2 separate regions of the Homo sapiens genome follow, and region 1 is linked to region 2. The links are contacts of gene promoters, found by promoter capture Hi-C in human tissues and cell types (Jung and others, 2019). All regions are on one chromosome and are shown on one strand. The core of a region is centred on a gene start or on the middle of the fragment in contact, and the rest is flanking DNA. Distances in the headings are between cores, read along the strand shown. Region 1 holds the start of DEF8 (differentially expressed in FDCP 8 homolog). Region 2 holds the start of PIEZO1 (piezo type mechanosensitive ion channel component 1 (Er blood group)).

The links. Contacts are between HindIII fragments. The study calls those that stand out against the background at their distance.
Region 1: the fragment with the promoter of DEF8 here is called in contact with the fragment with the promoter of PIEZO1 in region 2 in 2 of the 25 tissues and cell types used here (lymphoblastoid cells and spleen).

What each region holds. Positions count from the first base shown.
Region 1 is chr16:89,946,809-89,952,540 of GRCh38, reverse strand. It overlaps DEF8 (differentially expressed in FDCP 8 homolog), which reads right to left and starts at 3,786. Exons shown (of 13, transcript NM_001242818.2): 1 at 3,727-3,786; 2 at 3,028-3,124. RefSeq lists a silencer at 3,657-3,756 and an enhancer at 4,437-4,776. The HindIII fragment of the contact is 40,323 bases long and covers 1-5,732 here.
Region 2 is chr16:88,781,444-88,786,790 of GRCh38, reverse strand. It overlaps PIEZO1 (piezo type mechanosensitive ion channel component 1 (Er blood group)), which reads left to right and starts at 1,571. Exons shown (of 51, transcript NM_001142864.4): 1 at 1,571-1,890. The coding sequence starts at 1,827. RefSeq lists silencers at 1,073-1,402, 1,443-1,922, 2,423-2,742 and enhancers at 1,427-2,340, 4,823-4,902, 4,913-5,282, 5,303-5,347. The HindIII fragment of the contact is 3,328 bases long and covers 1,378-4,705 here.

The DNA.
Region 1 (5,732 bases), core at 2,537-5,036, 1.2 Mb before region 2:
TTTTTGTTTGTCACATAATTTCCCAGCCTCCCCAGCAGCTAGACCTGGTAAAGTGACTGTTCTGACCCCCTCGGCTTGAGAAGATCAGGCAGATCTGAGCAGCTCTGGGCTCCTGGCTTCACTGACATACCCAAGTGCTTAGCCCTTCCATCCACCCCAGGAAGTACGTGTTCTCCCTGATTTATAGGCAAGAAAAGGGAGAACCAGAGACTAAATCAGGGCTATCTGAAAACAACAGTAATGGGCCGGGCGTGGTAGCTCACACCTATAATCCCAGCACTCTGGAAGGCCAAGGCAGGAGGACGGCATCCGGCCAGGCCCAATGCAATGAGGCCCTATCTCTATTAAATTTTATACAAATATGGGCTGGGCGCCGTGGCTCACGCCTGTAATCCCAGCACATTGGGAGGCCGAGGCGGGCGGATCACCAGGTCAGGAGATCGAAACCATCCTGGCTAACACATTGAAACCCTGTCTCTACTAGAAATACAAAAAATTAGCCAGGTGTGGTGGCAGGCGCCTGTAGCCCCAGCTACTCGGGAGGCTGAGGCAGCAGAATAGCGTGAACCCAGGAAGCGGAGCTTGCAGTGAGCCGAGAACGCACCACTGCACTCCAGCCTGGGCAACAGAGCGAGACTCCATATCAAAAAAAAAAAAAATCTTTTTTACATAAATATGTATGTGTGTGTATATACATATATATGTGTGTGTGTGTATACATACATATGAGAAAAAAGAAAAGACTTCTGAGAATTGTCCTTAAAGGTAGGGGCTGCCCCTCTTCAGCCATCCCTGCCTCCTGCTGCCTGGAATGCAGATGTAAAGGCTGCAGCTGGAATAGCCACACTGGGGAGAGTGACGTGATTGCAGGGGACTGCACCTGAGCCCTAAGCTGCTCACAGCCAGACTTCATTCAAGTGAGAGAAATACGATATTCCCACCAGTGTTATAGGGGAGGTTTTTGTCTCTTGCGGCCAAAGTAGATTCTGACTGAAAGACCCAGCTCGGTGGCTCACGCCTGTAATCCCAGCACTTTGGGAAGCAGAAGTGGGCTGATCACCTGAGGTGAGCAGTTCGAGACCAGCCTGGCCAACCTGGTGAAACCCCGTCTCTACCAAAAATACAAAAATTAGCCGGGCGTGGTGGTGGGCATCTGTAATCCCAGCTACTTGGGAGGCTGAGGCAGGAGAATCGCTTGAACCCAGGAGGTGAGCCGAGATTGAGCCACTGCACTCCAGCTTGGGTGACAGAGTGAGACTCCATCTCAGAAAAAAAAAAAAGAAAAGATTCTGACTGATGATCCCAATAGTTTCATGGTAACAAGACAGACACGTCCAGCTTGAATCCCAACTCTGCTAGCTCCTAGCTGTGTGACCTTGGGTAAGTGGATAAACGTTTCTCTGCCTCCATTCTCCCATGTCTCAAATGGGGATTACAATAGTACCATACAGGGTTATTGTCAAGATTAAAGTAGTTAATACTAAGTTCAGAGAACACTGGCCGGCACATAGTAAGCACCCAATAAATATTGATTATAATTTATCATTATTACTTTTTTTTGAGACAGGGTGTTGCTCTGTCACCCGAGCTGGAGTGCAGTGGTGCGATCACAGCTCACTGCAGCCTCAAACTCCTGGGCTGAAGGGGTCCTCCCATATTAGCCTCCCAAGTAGCTGGAACTCCAGTGTGTGCCACCACACTCAGCTAATTTTTTTTAACTTTTTGTAGAGACGGAGTCTCACTCTGATGCCCAGGCTGGTCTCAAACTCCTGGCTTCAAGCAACCCTCCTGCCTCTGCCTCCCAAATTGCTGGGATTATAGGTGTGAGCTACCATGCCTGGCCTATTACTGTTATTTTTAAGAATCATGGCCGGTGTGTGGTGGCTCACTTTGGGAGGCTGAGGCGGGTGGATCATTTGAGGTCAAGAGTTCAAACCAGCCTGACCAACATGGTGAAACCCCGTCTGTACTAAAAACACAAACAAATTAGCTGGGCATGGTGGTGCATGCCTGTAATCCAGCTACTTGGGAAGCTGAGGCAGGAGAATCACTTGAACACGGGAGGTGGAGGTTGCAGTGAGCCGAGATTGTGCCACTGCACTCCAGCCTAGGCAACACAGCAAAACTCCATCTCAAAAAAAAAAAAAAAATCAGCCCTGATTTAGACTCTGGTTCTCCATTGTCTTGCCTATAAATCAGGGGGAACACCTACTTTCTGGGGTGGATGGAAGGGCTAAGGACTTGTTTATGATGTCAGTGAAGCCAGGAGCCCAGAGCTGCTCAGAACAGACTGGCACTGTCATCACATATGGTGACCAGCCCAGGAAAAAGGTGCAGGAGCTACGCCTGGGGAAGCCGCTGGAAACCTCCTGGTGTTTAAAACATGGCCAGAGGAGCGTCAAGGAAGGCACGCTGGCAGGGACACCTCCGTTCTGCCCAGCAGCTGTACTCTAGGCTACCAGCTCTCCTCCGGGCTGTGAAAAAAGGCATCTTTTATTTGCCTATTTACTGACAGTCAGTGCCAGCCCCAGGCCTGGCGCACGGGCAGGGGATGAATGAGGGGAGGCCGCTGGCCTCGCAGCCTTAGCTTCTGCTCACACAGACCTGGGGATGCCGGCCACAGTGGCCGACTCTGAGCAGAACGCCAGCCTGCCCCTCTCACCAGGCTCACCCCACCAGTTCTGCACCCAGATGTGGGACTTGGCCTCAGAAAGGAGCGGGCAGGAAGTGGAAGAGTGAAAGCAAGAGGTCTGGCCACCCCCTGCCCCTCCTCTAGAGCCCACTGCTCTCATCGGGGAGGACCCCACAACTTAGCAATGAAAGGAAGCCGAAGAAAGCCGGCGGGGTTCCGGGGCACGGAGGGACCCTGGGCCGAAGCTCAGGACACGCGGGATGCACGGACCTGGCCTCCCGCGTCCTGCCCGCGGCGTGACCACCAGGAAGCGGTGTCATCACTGCAGCTGCCACCCCGAGAACCTGAGAAGTCACCCCGGTGTGCGGAGTCAACAGCGTCCTGTCTGCCCATACCTGCATCGCCTGCCAGGGCCCAGGGGCTCGCAGGGACAGGATGGCCATTCCTCTAGGGCTGCTGGCCACGGAAGCCTGGCCGTGGGTTCGGCACCTGCTGCAGGGAGAAGCCACCCCAGCACTGTGCCTCCCCACCCACCACACCCGCGGGAGCTCGCCCGGTCTCCCGGGCTCCTCGGGGGCAGGTCTCTCCCACCCACCCGTTCCACCGAGGGGGAAACTGAGGCTCGGAGCAGCCCAGGGCGGGGGCACGGCCACGCGGGTCCCCTGAGCCGCCCGGGTGCTCCGCACGCAGCTGGTGTGGACGCCGGAGCAGCGGCGGCGTCCCCGGGGTGGGGCGGCCGAGGTCTCGAGGCCCCTGCGCCGGGCGGGCCGCCCTCCCAGCCCCGTCCCCGCCGGCCCCGACCTCGCCGGCCCCGTCCCCGCCGGCCCCGTCCCCGCCGGCCCCGTCCCTCCCAGCCCCGACCCCGCCGACCCCGTCCCCGCCGGCCCCGTCCCTCCCAGCCCCGACCCCGCCGGCCCCGTCCCCGCCGGCCCCGTCCCCGCCGGCCCCGTCCCTCCCAGCCCCGTCCCCGCCGACCCCGTCCCCGCCGGCCCCGTCCCTCCCAGCCCCGACCCCGCCGACCCCGTCCCCGCCGGCCCCGTCCCCGCCGGCCCCGTCCCCGCCGGCCCCGACCCCGCCGGCCCCGCGCCGCTCACCTGACCGCCGCCTCGCATCTGTCTCCCGGCTGCGCTGGATCCGCCCGGCCGCCCCGCTACGCTGGATCCAGCCCCGCGCTCGCTGCTGCCGCCTCCGGCGCGGAGGTTCATGGCACGCGGGTCGCGAGTCTGCGAGCCCCGGAGTCCGCCCGGCTGTTCCGCGGGCCTGACCTGGGGCTGCGCGTCCTGGGTTTCCTCTCATCGCAGAAGGCCTGTGGCTGAAACCCAAACCCCAACACGTTTAAAAAAAATGGGCGGGCGCGGCGGCTCACGCCTGTCATCCCAGCGCTTCGGGAGGCCGAGGCGGGCGGATCGCGAGGTCAGGAGATCGAGACCATCCTGGCTAACACGGTGAAACCCCGTCTCCACTAAAAATACGAAAAATTAGCCGGGCGCGGTGGCGGGCGCCTGTAGTCCCAGCTACGCGGGAGGCTGAGGCGGGAGAACGGCGTGAACCCGGGAGGCGGAGCTCGGAGTGAGCCGAGATCGCACCACTGCACTCCAGCCTGGGCGACAGAGCGAGACTCCGTCTCAAAAAAACAAAAAGGGTGGCTTTTAACACTTTTTTTAACCTCAGTGGTTGAGGAGGAAAAAGGAACAGAGAACCACCGTGTGCAGGTGCCGCCAGCCACCTGCAGGGCCCCGCGGGGGCTTCACGGCTGCAGAGGGAGGGACCCGGCGCGGCTCTACCCTCTTTACACAGGAGGACGCGCCACACTGCGCTCAGGAGGCTGCTCCATGCAGGCGCCGGGCAGCGGGACTTCGGAGGCAGCTGGTGTCCGCGGGCCCTGGCGTTATTCCTGCTTTCCCGTTGTTTACACACAGAGCAGGCCTGCTGCTCCCCGCCCCCGTATCCCTACTCTTAGGCTTCTCGCGTGGAAGATTCAGCTGCCCCCGCTTGTGCCCGCAGGGAGGAGCTGAGGACAGATGAAGGCCAGCATATGCGCCTGGTGCGCTTGCCCTGAGCTCGCGGGCTCAGTTTACCCTCCCTGCAGAAAGGTGTGGTTTTGGCTGCCTCTGGGGCTTGGTCCACTTTGTTCAGTGGGCATGGTGATGACAGTGCCAGTAACTGGAGGCCTCCCAAGTGGGAGCCACACACCACCTTGCAGAGACCAGCTCGGTCGGGGAGACCCTAACCCGGCAGCGCTAGAGGAACTAAAGACACACACACACAGAGATAGAGAGGTGTGGAGTGGGAAATCAGGGGTCTCACAGCCTTCAGAGCTGACAGCCTCGAACAGAGACTTACCCACGTATTTATTAACGGCAAACCAGTGATAAGCATTGTTTCTGTAGATATTAGACTAACTAAAAGTATCCCTTATGGGAAACGAAGGGATGGGCCAAGATAAAGGGATGGGTCTGGCTAGTTACCTGCAGCAGGAGCATGTCCTTAAGGCACAGATCGCTCACGCTATTGTTTGTGGCTTAAGAATGCCTTTAAGCAGTTTTCCGCCCTGGGTGGGCCAGGTGTTCCTTGCCCTCATTCTGGTAAACCCACGACCTTCCAGCGTGGGCGTCATGGCCGTCATGAACATGTCACAGTGCTGCAGAGATTTTGTTTATGGCCAGTTTTGGGACCAGTTTATGGCCAGGTTTTGGGGGGCGTGTTGCCAACACCATCTCATTTAACCCTACGGAAGCCTGGGGGCCAGCAGTCACCTACAGGACAGGCAACTCCATCGGCCCCCCCAAGGCCACATCGCTCAGAAAGGGTGCAGTGAGATTCCACCCCAGCTTAGGGTGGCTTCGGACGCCGTGTCCCTCCATGCACTCAGACCTGGAGGGAGACTGCCCTGAGCCGCCGCTCTATCTGCTGCTTCAAGGTCCCCAGTCCTAGAGATTCCACGTCCACCTGGCCTCTCTCCCAGCTCCTCCTTCTGGAAAGGCCTTCCCCATCTCAGCTCCCACCTGGGCCCCACAGTACATCCTCAGCCTGGCAGTGAGAGGGACCCTGGGAAGAAGTCGGCCCCCACCTTCACCTCCTGGCTCCTCTCCCCAACAGG
Region 2 (5,347 bases), core at 322-2,821:
CATTTCTGGGTGGTTTTTTTTTTTTTAATGGAGTTTCGTTCTTGTCACTCAGGCTGGAGTGCAATGGCATGATCTCGGCTCACGGCAACCTCTGCCTCCCAGGTTCAAGCGATTTTCCTGCCTCGGCCTCCTGAGTAGTTGGGAATACAGGCGCCTGCCATCACGCCCGGCTAATTTTTGTATATTTATTTATTTATTTATTTATTTATTTATTTATTTATTGAGACGGAGTCTGGCTCTGTCGCCCAGGCTGGAGTGCAGTGGCGCTATCTCGGCTCACTGCAAGCTCCGCCTCCTGGGTTGATGCCATTCTCCTGCCTCAGCCTCCCGAGTAGTTGGGACTACAGGAGCCCGCCACCACGCCCGGCTAATTTTTTATGTTTTTAGTAGAGATGGGTTTTCACCGTGTTAGCCAGGATGGTCTCGATCTCCTGACCTGGTGATCCACCCGCCTCGGCCTCCCAAAGTGCTGGGATTACAGGCGTGAGCCACCGCGCCCGGCCTAATTTTTGTATTTTTAGTAGAGACGGGGTTTCACCATGTTGGCCAGGCTGGTCTCGAACTCCTGACGTCAAGTGATCCCCCGACCCCCTACCCCCTTGCCTCAGCCCCGCAAAGTGCTGGGATTACAGGCCTGAGCCACTGCCCCGCCATCTTTTTTTTTTTTTTTTTTTTTTGAGCTGGAGGGTGTGGGCTTGTGCTGGGCTCTCATGAGTTGCCAGTGCCTTGAGGCTCAGTGGCCACAGTCCCCCCAGCCCCACTCCCTGCCTTACGCAGCTGAGTTTGAGAGCCATGAACTGAGCCCAATTAAACGGTGTAGAGCCCTTTGCCCTCTTTCTGTGCCCATCTCAAGGGCAGACGAAGGCCAAACTGACGTGGCCTGGGTGAGGGTCCCGAACACCCTGGACTCAGACCCTACCTCTCCGTGGCAGGGCGCCGCGGCAGCAGGTGCACAGGCCGTGGCTCTCACTCTCACCGTCTCACGCCAGAGCGACCCGGGCAAAGCCGCGCGCGGTGGCCGGCGTGGCTGGGAGCAGCCCCCGAGCCCCCGTCAGACCAACGCGGATCGCGGCACTGCTGCGACCCGAGCATCCCGCGTGCTCCCTCCGGGACCACTAGGCCCGGCCGCCGCGGGAACTCCGAGCCTCCCCACGGTCCCCAGGGGGCGCTGCGTGCTCGCGCCTCGGGGAGCAAAGCGAAAGTCGCTCGGGCACGCGGGGTGCAGTTGCGCGTGGGGCGCTGCCTGGGGGAGCCAGAGGCCCCGGGACCCCTTATGTAGCGCCCGGGCCCCAGCCGCAGCCCACCCAGCGAGAAGCGCCCCTGCCCACCGCCGCGCACGCTCGGAGCCGCGGGGCCAAGACTGCGGGAGGGGAGGGGTCCGCTCCGGGCCAGCGCCAGTCGGGGGTCTCCAGGCCCCAACGCACCAGGGCGGGCCGGAGGCGGGACGGGCCGCGCGGGACAGCGGAGGGGGTGCCTGGGCGCGCCGGGCCGTCGGGGAAGCGCGGAGGCGGGCACGCCGGGGAGGGCGGGAGGGGGCCGAGCTTATAAAGGCCCGCGGGCGGAGGAGGGCGGGAGCCGCCGTCCGGCCCAGCTCGGCCCCAGTGAGCCGAGCGCTGCGCTCCGCCGAGGGGCAGGGCGGTCGCCTGAGCGAGCGCGGGCCCGGGACGTCGGCACCGGCGGGGCGGCCGAAGGAGAAGGAGGAAGAGGAGAAGGCGGCGCGCGGGTCCCCGCGGGTCAGCCATGGCGCGCCGGCCCCGGGGCCCCCGCACCGCCCCATAGCGCCGCGGCGTCCGCTCGGTCTGGGCCGGGCCCTGGGCCCTCCAGCCATGGAGCCGCACGTGCTCGGCGCGGTCCTGTACTGGCTGCTGCTGCCCTGCGCGCTGCTGGCTGGTGAGTGGGGGGCGGGCGCCTGGGGGCGACGGGAGGGGGCTGCGTCTCGGCTCCCCACGGCCTGGACACCGGACGACGCCGGCCGGGGCGAGGGCTGCGGGCGAGCGGGCGCGGAAATTCCCAGGGACGCGCGACCCGGGCGCCCGCATTCCTGAAGCATGAGCGCGCCAGGCGGCGGCGGGGCTCCTGTCCCAGGGCCGGGCTGGAAGGGCGGCGGCGGCTGGGGGAGACGGCACCGCGTGCCCACGGGGGCGGTCGAGCGAGCGCCGGGCATAGCGCGGCTGGCGTCTCCGCCGGGGCGCTGCGGAGAGGAGGCCGCCGGGCGAGGCGGTGTTTGCCCCGGTGGGAAGGGCCGCGGCGGTGGTGGGGGGAGCACGAATCTCTTTTTCTCTTTCGGGTTTAAAAAAAAAAGCGCAAAGTTGCATCAGGACTTCCTGACAATCTGGGAGAAGGCGGGCTTCCTGCCTGGAGCTGTTTAATTTGGAGCTTCCCGAGCCCAACGAACGTCCGTGCCCAGGGCCCAGCCCCGCTCACCGCTGCACCCCCCTCTGCCGGACTGAGGCGGTCCCACACTTTGGAAAAAAATAGTGTGGGTTCCTCCCTGGTCCTCCCTTGCCCTACTGGGCTCAGTTTCGCAGGGGCGGGGGCCGGCCTCTGCCCTGGTCTGGGGGAGGGGACACCCCCGGAGGCTGTGGCCTGGTGTCAGGGCGGGGCAGGGGTCCCCAGTCCTGGCATCTGTGTTCCCTGCTTGCCGGGCAGTGGTGCCCCTTTCGCGAAGCACACCCGGGTGGCTTGGTGCTGCACGGCCTGGCACCCCTACCCTTCCCCGACCCTGGCCTAGCCGGGACCCAGGGTCCGCGCCCTCCGCCCGGGGGCTCCCCACGTGTGATTGATCTGGGAAGCAGTCGGATGGAATTAACCCACGGACAAGTGGGACGGTTTGCATTGGGAGTCCGCCATGGACACGGCAGGTGGGGCCTTTTGATTGTAAAAGCCCTTTCGGAGCCCTTGCCTCGCTCCAGGTGGGAGCTCGCCCAGCGCTAGCTTTGGGGATCTAGAGCCGCCTGCCTGAGGCTCCCAGACAGACTGCGTTTTGATCGGTCGCACAGAAAGGTGGTGAAACTTGGGGAAGATTTTCTAGACAGGAATCAATGAAAACCATTGAGGCTGGAGAGGAGAGGTTTTGAGCAACTCTCTTCAGTGCGGTCAGCCCTGTGTGGACTGGGCAGCCTGGGACCTGCTCCCAGTGCAGGGTCAGATGGGCCGTAAACAGGGCCCGGCTGTGTTCCTTCCTGTGCCTTGAAAACAAGCAGGACAGCCTGGCACAGAGGCAGAGTCTAGAGCTGACAGGCCTTAGAGAGGGAAACAGGAAAGCTTCTGAAACGTCCCGTTCACACTGATCGTTCCATTTCCTCTTGTGTCTGAGTGGGAGCGGGTGTCCTCCCTGCAGGGAATGCCCCCCCTCTCAGATGGCAGCTGCTCCTTGGGCAGAGTTGGCAATGTTTTTCTTTAAATGACCAGATGGTAAATATTTTCATGTCACAAAATCTTCTTCTTCTGGTATTTTTCCAGCCATTAAATGTAAAAGCCCTCCTGAGTTCATGGGCTGTACCTAAACAGGTGTTGAGCCCGATTCTGTGGCACATGTGGTTTGCTGCCCCCTGGGCATTGGTCAGGGGGCCTGGGTTCTGCCTTCTCGATTGCTATCCGCGTGGGGGATCTGGGGGAGGGATCACTGTTCTTCTTGCTTTTGGCCTCCTTGGGGAGGATGGGGAGGTAGCCCAGGGGTGCTCACCCAGGCCCCGTGTCAGTCTTCTATGAAACTTTTAAAGAATAGTGATGACTGACTGTCTGTCTGTATGGTACTTTCCTTAAACCTAAAACTGGTCCCAAATAAAGTCTCTTAATTTGAAAGATGCTGAAGCCCGGGCCATACCCCACACTGATTCTGTGTCTGGGGATGGGGCGTGGGGCCTGGGCCTCACTCAGTGTTTTCTCTCAGTCACCTGGGGGAGATGGAAGTGGAGCCGGCCAAGAACCCTGCCTGCCTGCCTGCTGGCCGGGACTCCTGAGTCAGGCTCTCTGGCCCTGGGGTGTGGGCAGCTCCAGATGGACCCGCGATGTGCAGGTTCAGCTGGCCTGGCCGGAGGTGGGACACTGGCTTTGCTGTCTTTGGAGTGCCCCCTCCCTCTCTGGCGAGCTTTGGCTGGAAGCAGTTCTACCGTGTTTTGGAAATGAATGAGGCCTTCAGAAGGCATTAGTCAGTGTGTGCCTGCGCTGGCTCAGACAGTGCCTGGTGAGGGTTTGAGTCATCCTGGGGTGCCCCTGGCCCCCACGCCCTCCCTCTCCAGTGCAGGATCATTACCCAAAAATCTGGCAGGGAGCTGCCCCACCCACAGGGAGCAGGGGCCTCCTTCAGCAGTCTCACCTAATGTTGCTGGAGCCTTGGGGGATCAGGGCCCATCTCTTCTAGAGAGATGTCAGGGCAGGGCTGGGCGCGATGGCTCACACCTGTAATCCCAGAGCTTCGGGAGGCCAAGGTGGGAGGATTGCTTGAGCGTAGCCATTCGAGAGCAGCCTGGGCAACGTAGAGATCCCCATCTCTATGAAAAATATTTAAAAATTAGCTGGGCATGGTGGTAGTGCACCTGTAGTCCCAGCTACTCAGGAGGCCAAGGTGGGATGATTGTTTGAGTCCAGGAGTTGGAGGCTACAGTGAGCCATGATTGTATGACTGCACTCCAGCCTGGGTGACAGACCCTGTCTCAAAAAAGAAAAAGGAAAAAAAAGGGCAGGACATTTGTGATTCTGATAATATGGGACCGCACCTCCAGTTCTATCAGTGGGAAATCTAGACAGGGCTGCGGAAAGCCAGCTGGTGCGAGAGGAGCCACCGTGTCACTGACTGTGGGACACCCACGTGGGCTGACAATATGGCTTCTGCTTTTCAGGGTGCCTCGTGGCACAGCCTAGGGGCACACCCACGGCCGGCAAGCTGGGCGTCACCTCCTTCAGGCTGATTGTCACTGAGAAGTGTCACCATTTAGCATGAGGGATGCTGCCTCCTTTTTCAGAACATTGTCACCATCAGGGTCTCACCACTCCTGGGAGGCGGCCGAGAAGCTGGGGAACAGCAGGCACTCGGCTCACAGTTGCTCAGCAGTGCAGACCCTCTGAGCTGAGCATGGCAGAGTCACCCTTCGGAGGCCTGTGCCCGGGTCTCAGGACCTGCACAGAACCCTGGCCTGTCCCATCCGAGGGTGCTGGGAAGAGCATGGCCGTGGCAGAGTAGGGTGGGAGCTGCTTTCCTCTGTGGCTTGGGGGCCCCTTCTGAGCATCAGCTCCCTGGTGTGACAGAGGGGCGCACTCTGTCCCCATGCTGGGCCTGGAGGCTGGATGAGTCAGCAGGAGAGCCTGGGGCCTGCCTCACAGCACCAAGGGCTGCAGGTGTGAGTGT